Regions from separate parts of the Homo sapiens genome. Here region 2 is linked to region 1. Evidence: promoter capture Hi-C in human tissues and cell types (Jung and others, 2019). All regions are on one chromosome and are shown on one strand. The core of a region is centred on a gene start or on the middle of the fragment in contact, and the rest is flanking DNA. Distances in the headings are between cores, read along the strand shown.

Region 1 (3,593 bases), core at 778-3,277:
GCTATTGATGAGTGTGAAGTCACGGGCCGCCTGCAGAACGCAGTATGTGACGTGAATCCCTTAAAATATGTATTTAGGCTGGGCACGGTGGCTCATACCTGTGATCTCAACATTTTGGGAGGCCGAGCTGGGAGGGTTGTTTGAGCCCAGGAGTTTGAGACCAGCTTGAGCAACATAGCGAGATCCCATCTCTACATAAAAGTTTCAAAATTAGCCAGGTGTGATGGCACGTACCTGTAGTCTCAGCTACTCAGGAGGCTGAGGGAGGAGGATTGCTGGAGTCTAGGAGGTCGAGGCTACAGTGACTCGCGTTTATACCAGTGCATTCTAGCTTGGGCAATAGAGCAAGATCCTGTCTCAAAAAAAACTTTTTAAAAATACATTTCAATGTGGAGGAGAAGGCGATCAGAAGGATGTCTGACAAGAAGGTGAGAGAGGTTACCTCTACACAGTTGGCTTATGGGGTCTTCTTTTTGTTTTTATTTTTCATAATTTTCCAAATTTTGCACACCGGACACCTAGTGTTGTGTTGTTTTTCTCTCTCTCTCTTTTTTTTTTGAAACAAAGTCTTGCTTTGTCACCCAGGCTGGAGTGCAGTGGCATAATCTCGGCTCACTGCAACCTCCGCCTCCCGGGTTCAAGTGATTCTCCTGCTTCAGCCTCCCGAGTAGCTGGGACTATAGGCACCAGCCACCACGCCCAGCTAATTTTTTTATTTTTAATAGAGACGGGGTTTGACCATACTGGCCAGGCCGGTCTTGAACTCCTGACCTTGTGATCTGTCTGCCTCAGCCTCCCAAAGTGCTGGGATTACAGGCATGAGCCACCACGCCCAGCCGTGTTATTTCTTAAGGCTTAAAAAAATTCTTTGAGGCTGGGTGTGGTGGCTCACGCCTGTACTCCCAGCACTTTGAGAGGCTGAGGCGGGTGTATCATGAGGTCAAGAGTTTGATACCAGCCTGGCCAAGAAGGTGAAACCCCATCTCTATTAAAAATACAAAAATTAGCTGGACACAATGATGGGTACCTATAATCCCCACTACTCAGGCGGCTGAGGCAGAAGAATGACTTGAACCCCGGAGGTGGAGGTTGCAGTGAGCCCAGATTGCACCATTACACTCCAGCCTGGGCGACAGAGCGAGACTCCATCTAAAAAAAAAAAAAAATTCTTTGCACTGGTGTGGGACGATGGTGACGAATCCCTCAGCCATCTGTGGGGCGCTGCTGAGGGCGTGGGGGGCATTTCTGCACGGTGAAGCAGAGCTGGTGGGAGGCTGCCCGAGGGAAGCTGGTGCTGGGAGGGTTTGCAGAGAGGAAAAGGGCAGTTTATGGAAAAGGCCTCTGGGCTCTGTCTGGAGCCGTCATGCCGGCCTTCACGGCATCCTTCCGCACTTAGAGTCCTTTCCATCTCCTGGTGGCTGGCACAGGGCCAGGGCTGCACTCACAGCTGGCCAGGGTAGGGCAGGGCGCCCGTCCTCAGGGCCACTGACTGTAGGGCTAACCTAGGGGCCTGGTTCACCCCTCTCACCTGGGGCTTCGCTGATAAGCCTGGTTCACCTCCTCACCTGGTGGCCTCGTTCACCCCCTCACCTGGCGCCTTGCCTGATAGCCTGGTTCACCCCTCTCACCTGGGGCCTCTCCTGGTGGCCTGGTTCCCCTTCCTCACCTCGTGGCGCTGGTTCACCCCTCTCACCTGGGGCCTTAACTGGTGGCCTGGTTCACCTCTTCACCTGGCGCCTTGCAGAGTAGCCGGGTTTACTCCTCTCACCTGGGGAGGCACGAACTGGCCCGGGCTGACTGACCTCCCTCACCTGTTTGGCTTTAGGCTCTGGGGCCCCCCTGCCCGGGTGTTTCTGGGAGGCTGGAGGGTCCCACGTGAGCTCCACCGCGGGCAGCTGGAGGGAGTGGGGCAGGACGCTGAGCGCCGGGAGGGGTGTGGCCCTCCTGTCCTGCCCGCGGCCCCACACCGGCCCCAGTCCCGCCCGCCTCGGTCCCTGCCCCGCGCGCCGACGTCACCGGGACCTCCCGATCCTCCCGGCCCAGGCCGAGCTGCCCACGCTGCTGCCCGGGGCTCGGTGCCCGGCGCGGCCTCTGCCGGCTCCGGCGGGCGCGGGACTGCGAGGTAGGGGGGCGCGCGGGGAAGACTCGGGGGCGCAGGGACCGAGAGGGACCTCCGTGCCGGGGCGGGTGGGTAGGGGCAGCTCCGGGTCCAGCCCGGCCCGCGCACCAAGTCCCGAGGGCGCCCGGGCGGCGGCGGCTACGGGCGCGCGGGGACCGCGGAGACGCGAAGGGCGCACTTGGCGAGGGTTTGGTGCAGCGCCGCGCCGGGGTCCGCACAGCCCCGGCAGGTCCTGCAGAGGGAAGGCCGGGCCAGGGAAGGGCCACGCGCCCCCTCCCCGCCATCCTCTCCCAGGCCAGGGCGACCTGCGCGCTTCCCGATGGGAGCAAACTGGGGACGGGTCGGGAATCCAGGGCCAAGCGCCCGAAAGAAGGCGTTTCCGGGCTGGGGCGAGCCAGGTGGGTGCGGGACGTCCCCGGGGAACCTCCAGGGCGCCGAGAATCTCGTCGTGCCCAGGGCTCCCCGCAGCCTGTGTATGAGCCGGGGAGGGAGAAGGCTTCCTCCCCCAGGAGACTGAGGGAGAAGGCTGTGGATATGATCCCTGCAGGGATGTAAGACAGGTCTCAAAACCAGAAAAGCAAGGGAGGGGTGACAGAGAAATGGCAAACTTTACAAAGGACAGGGGAGGGCAGGGACCTGGGTCCTTTCTGCCCCCATCACGGGAGGGAAACACTTGGCAGAGGAGTTTGGGGTTCGCAGGTGAGGAGAGAGAACAGGAAGCCAAGAGTCTGGCCCGGAGGCCACTACCCCTGCGGTCTAAGCCCCCGGTTTTCCCTCCTAGCGAATGGAAACTGAGAGGTGAGAAACCCCCAAAACCATCCGTCCGTCTGGTTCTGCCTGAAGGTCTCCGCTGTCAGCTAATGAATAGCTCGATGCAGCTGCTGGGAGGTTTTGCAAAGCGCATTCAGAATAGCGAGAATCAGAGCATGGTTTCTTGCCCAAAGGCCAGGCATCTGCGTGGTCAGATGGGGGAGCATGAGTGCCCGGAGCTGTGCGGTTTAGGGCAGCCTGACCTTGGATACCTGGTTACTGGGCCAGTCTGGCGGCCCTTGTTGCTTAGAGCGGCAGAACCTCCCTGGGGGGGGGATGCGGACGTGCTCTTTTCCAGTCTTTGGACAAAAAAAGGCAAGGGGAGGAGGAAGGAGAAGCGTCTGAGTTTACCCATGGTATTAATAGCAGCAGGGCTGGAACTCGGGTGCTCTGGGAGAGGAGACGTCCTACCCCCTGTCCCCGTCAGAACATCCCTGCTCCAGGAGCAGCTGGGGTTCCAGTGTGAAGCGTGGCTTTGAAACCAGGCCCCGCTGGCCCCCAGCTGTGTCGCCAGGGCCAAGTCACTTAACGTCTGAGCCTCAGTTTCCCCACCTGAAACACCGCAGTGGCACCTGCGGCTCCGTGTGTGGCTTGGAGGACGCAGGCATGAGACCTGTTGGCTGCTGTCATGACTGCAGTTAGCAGAGGAGGGGGACACACTGTG
Region 2 (3,593 bases), core at 553-3,052, 320 kb before region 1:
GTTAGCCAGAATGGTCTCGATCTCCTGACCTTGTGATCCACCCGCCTCGGCCTCCCAAAGTGCTGGGATTACAGGCCTGAGCCACCGCGCCCGGCCTCTCTGAGCTTCTTTCTAATCTTGCCTGTAATACACAATATTAGACTACTTTTAAGTTTTTTTTGTTTGTTTGTTTGTTTGAGACAGTCTCACTCTTGCCCAGGCTGGAGTGCAGTGGTGTGATCTCAGCTCACTGCAACCTCCGCCTCCCGGGTTCAAGCAATTCTCCTGCCCCACCCTCCCAAGTAGCCGGGATTACAGGCGCACACTACCACGCCTGGCTTGCTTGCTTGCTTATTTATTTATTTATTTATTTATTGAGACAGAGTCTTGCTCTGTCACCCAGGCTGGAGTGCAGTGGCACGATCTTGGCTCACTGCAACCTCCGCCTCCCAGGCTCAAGCAATTCTCCTGCCTTAGCCTCCTGAGTAGCTGGGATTATAAGCATGTGCCACCATGCCCGGCTAATTTTTGTATATTTAGCAGAGACAGGGTTTCACCATGTTGGCCGGGCTGGTCTCGAACTCCTGACCTCAAGTGATCTGCCCACCTTGGCCTCCCAAAGTGCTGGGATTACAGGTGTGAACCATTGCGCCCAGCCAAGATTTTTTTTTAAACAGCTTTATTGAGATAATTGATATACAGTAAATCTGCATAGTTTTAAAGCGTACAATTTAATACATTTTGATGTGTACATATCACGAAACCATCGCCACAGTCAAAATAATGGACGTTTTGATTAACTTTTCTATAATTATGATAATGAAACTAGAGACTTCGGATCTTCTGGTTAGGATTTCCCTGTCACTTAGGAGCTCCCTGGCTGTGGATCTGTCCCCCGTGTGACTGCCTTAGGCTCGAGGCAGGAAGAGCAGCACAGATACTCCTGGCACCGAGGGCTTGTCCGTGGAGAGGGGTGGGGCGGACAGCGCATACCTGCCTAGCCTTACAGTGTGGGTATGTGCCAACGGCCCTCTCTCACTCAGGTATATTTTCCTGGAGTACGCGTCCCCTGCCCACGCTGTGGATGCTGTGAAGAACGCCGACGGCTACAAGCTTGACAAGCAGCACACATTCCGGGTCAACCTCTTTACGGATTTTGACAAGTGAGTTCAGACTTGGCCACAAGGAAGTGGACGTTGACGTGCAAGTGACTGGCTGTGTGCGGGTGGCTTGGTGCTTCTCGGTGCTGGTGTCTGTCAGATTGTTCACATCCTTTCTGGTCAGGCTGCCGCAGAGCCATTTCACAGCCCTGCCCCACACTTCTGGCCTACAGCACCCCTCCCTGTTATGCCAGTCACAGCCCTGGGGGCGGGCAGGCAGGAGCACAGCAGGGCCATGCTGGAGCCCCCACGAGTTGCTCTTTCTAGTCGTCAGGGCGTGGGGCTCAGCAGTCTCCTTTCTTCTCCAGGTATATGACGATCAGTGACGAGTGGGATATTCCAGAGAAACAGCCTTTCAAAGACCTGGTGAGTGGCCTGAAACCTACATCTCAGTGGTTTAAAGAAATGCTGCTGGGTGTGGTGGGTCACACCTGCAATCCCAGCACTTAGGGAGGCTGAGGTGGGAGGATCGCTTAAGCCCAGGAATTCAAGACCAGCCTGGGCAACAAAGTGAGACCCCCGCCTCTACAAAAAGTAAATAAATACATACATTAGCTGGGCCTGGCATGCACCTGTATTCCCAGCTACCTGGGAGGCTGAGGGGGGAGGATCACTTGAGCCTGGGAGGTTGAGCCTGGGAGGTTGAGGCTGCCGTGAGCTATGATTGTGCCACTGGACTCCAGCCTGGGCAACAGCGTGACTCTGTCTCAAAAAAAAAAGAAATGCTAGACGGTGTCTTGACTTGAGGTTAGGGTGTGACTTGGGAGTTAAGATGTGGACTGAACTTGTCATATCTTTAAGAGCAATAGTTGTGAATGAGTTTTTTATTAAAATTAATGAAATGTTATATTCCTTGTCTTTGTTTTTAAGGGGAACTTACGTTACTGGCTTGAAGAGGCAGAATGCAGAGATCAGTACAGTGTGATTTTTGAGAGTGGAGACCGCACTTCCATATTCTGGAATGACGTAAAAGACCCTGTCTCAATTGAAGAAAGAGCGGTGTGTATTTGCTGCTGCTGGGGGCGGGGACTCACCTCTCCTGTATTTCCTTAACAAAGTGGAACTTTGTTTCTATCAGAAAACTGGAAGAGCAGGTGACGTTATATTTTCTTTGAGATTACTTTCTGAAAACAACTTCTTTTATTCCTCTTCCAGCTTTGAAGTAAATCCTGAGAAGTGAACAGGCTTTGTGTATTTCACTTAAGAGTTTGCAGAATAGGCCGGGCGCGGTGGCTCACGCCTGTAATCCCAGCACTTTGGGAGGCCAAGGTGGGTGGATCACGAGGTCAGGAGATTGAGACCATCCTGGCTAACACGGTGAAACCCCGTCTCTACTAAAAATACAAAAAAATTAGCTGGGCATGGTGGCAGGCACCTGTAGTCCCCGCTACTCGGGAGGCTGAGGCAGGAGAATGGCATGAACCTGGGAGGTGGAGCTTGCAGTGAGCTGAGATTGCGCCACTGCACTCCAGCCTGGGAGACAGCGAGACTCCGTCTCAAAAAAAAAAAAAGTTTGTAGAACAGATTCATTGTAGGATAAATTCATTGTAGGAGGGGTCTTTGTGTTTGCCATTTTGTTGTATTAACGTTGGCACTGCCTTTTTCTGCAGAGATGGACAGAGACGTATGTGCGTTGGTCTCCTAAGGGCACCTACCTGGCTACCTTTCATCAAAGAGGCATTGCTCTATGGGGGGGAGAGAAATTCAAGCAAATTCAGAGATTCAGCCACCAAGGGGTTCAGCTTATTGACTTCTCACCTTGTGAAAGGTAAGCTGCTAGAAAAACACAGGGGAGTCTATGCATTTCACCCCATGCCAGCCTTCTACAGGTGATCTTTCATTTTGTAGCATTTCAAACTTAGTAGAAAAATACGGGAGTATGCAGAACGCTAATAAGCTTTTTACTGAGATCTTCTCACATTTGGTTGCATTTACGTCATCATCTCCTATACAGATATTTTTTCCTGAGCCATTTGGGAGTGAGTTGAAATAACATGTCCCTTTAGCCCTGAATGTGTATTCCTAGAAATAGGATTTTGTTAGTGTGACCATAGTGTGGGTACTGACTTCAGGGATTTACCATTCATTTAATACTTCAATGTATTGCCATATTCTGATTTTGTTACTTGACCTAATAATGTTCTGTATAATACTTACTTTCCTTCAGTTCAGGATCTAGTCTAAGGTCACGTATTTTACAGATAATAAATTGTCCTTCCTCTATCACCCAGGCTTGGCGCCACCCAGTGGCACCATTGCAGGCTCATTGCAACCCCAGCCTCCCAGGTCAAGCGGTTCTCCCACCTCAGCCTTCCTGAGTAGCGGGGACCGCAGGCACACGCCATGACATATGGCTAATTTTATTTTTTGTAGAGATGGGGGTCTCACTTTGTTGTACAAGGTAGTCTTGAACCCCTGGGCTCAAGTGATCTCCTGCCTTGACCTCCCAGAGTG

Evidence for each region. The method cuts DNA at HindIII sites, captures the fragments that hold promoters and counts their contacts. A contact is called where the count stands out against the background at its distance.
Region 2: a fragment that was not itself captured here is called in contact with the fragment with the promoter of AMZ1 in region 1 in 1 of the 25 tissues and cell types used here (dorsolateral prefrontal cortex).

What each region holds. Positions count from the first base shown.
Region 1 is chr7:2,686,175-2,689,767 of GRCh38, forward strand. It overlaps AMZ1 (archaelysin family metallopeptidase 1), which reads left to right and starts at 2,028. Exons shown (of 7, transcript NM_001384743.1): 1 at 2,028-2,122. RefSeq lists an enhancer at 2,727-2,996. The HindIII fragment of the contact is 48,320 bases long and covers 1-3,593 here.
Region 2 is chr7:2,361,623-2,365,215 of GRCh38, forward strand. It overlaps EIF3B (eukaryotic translation initiation factor 3 subunit B), which reads left to right. Exons shown (of 19, transcript NM_001037283.2): 3 at 1,023-1,142; 4 at 1,448-1,505; 5 at 2,010-2,138; 6 at 2,750-2,907. Among named protein-coding and RNA genes, the nearest start is that of EIF3B, 8.6 kb to the left of the region's middle. The HindIII fragment of the contact is 3,706 bases long and covers 1-3,593 here.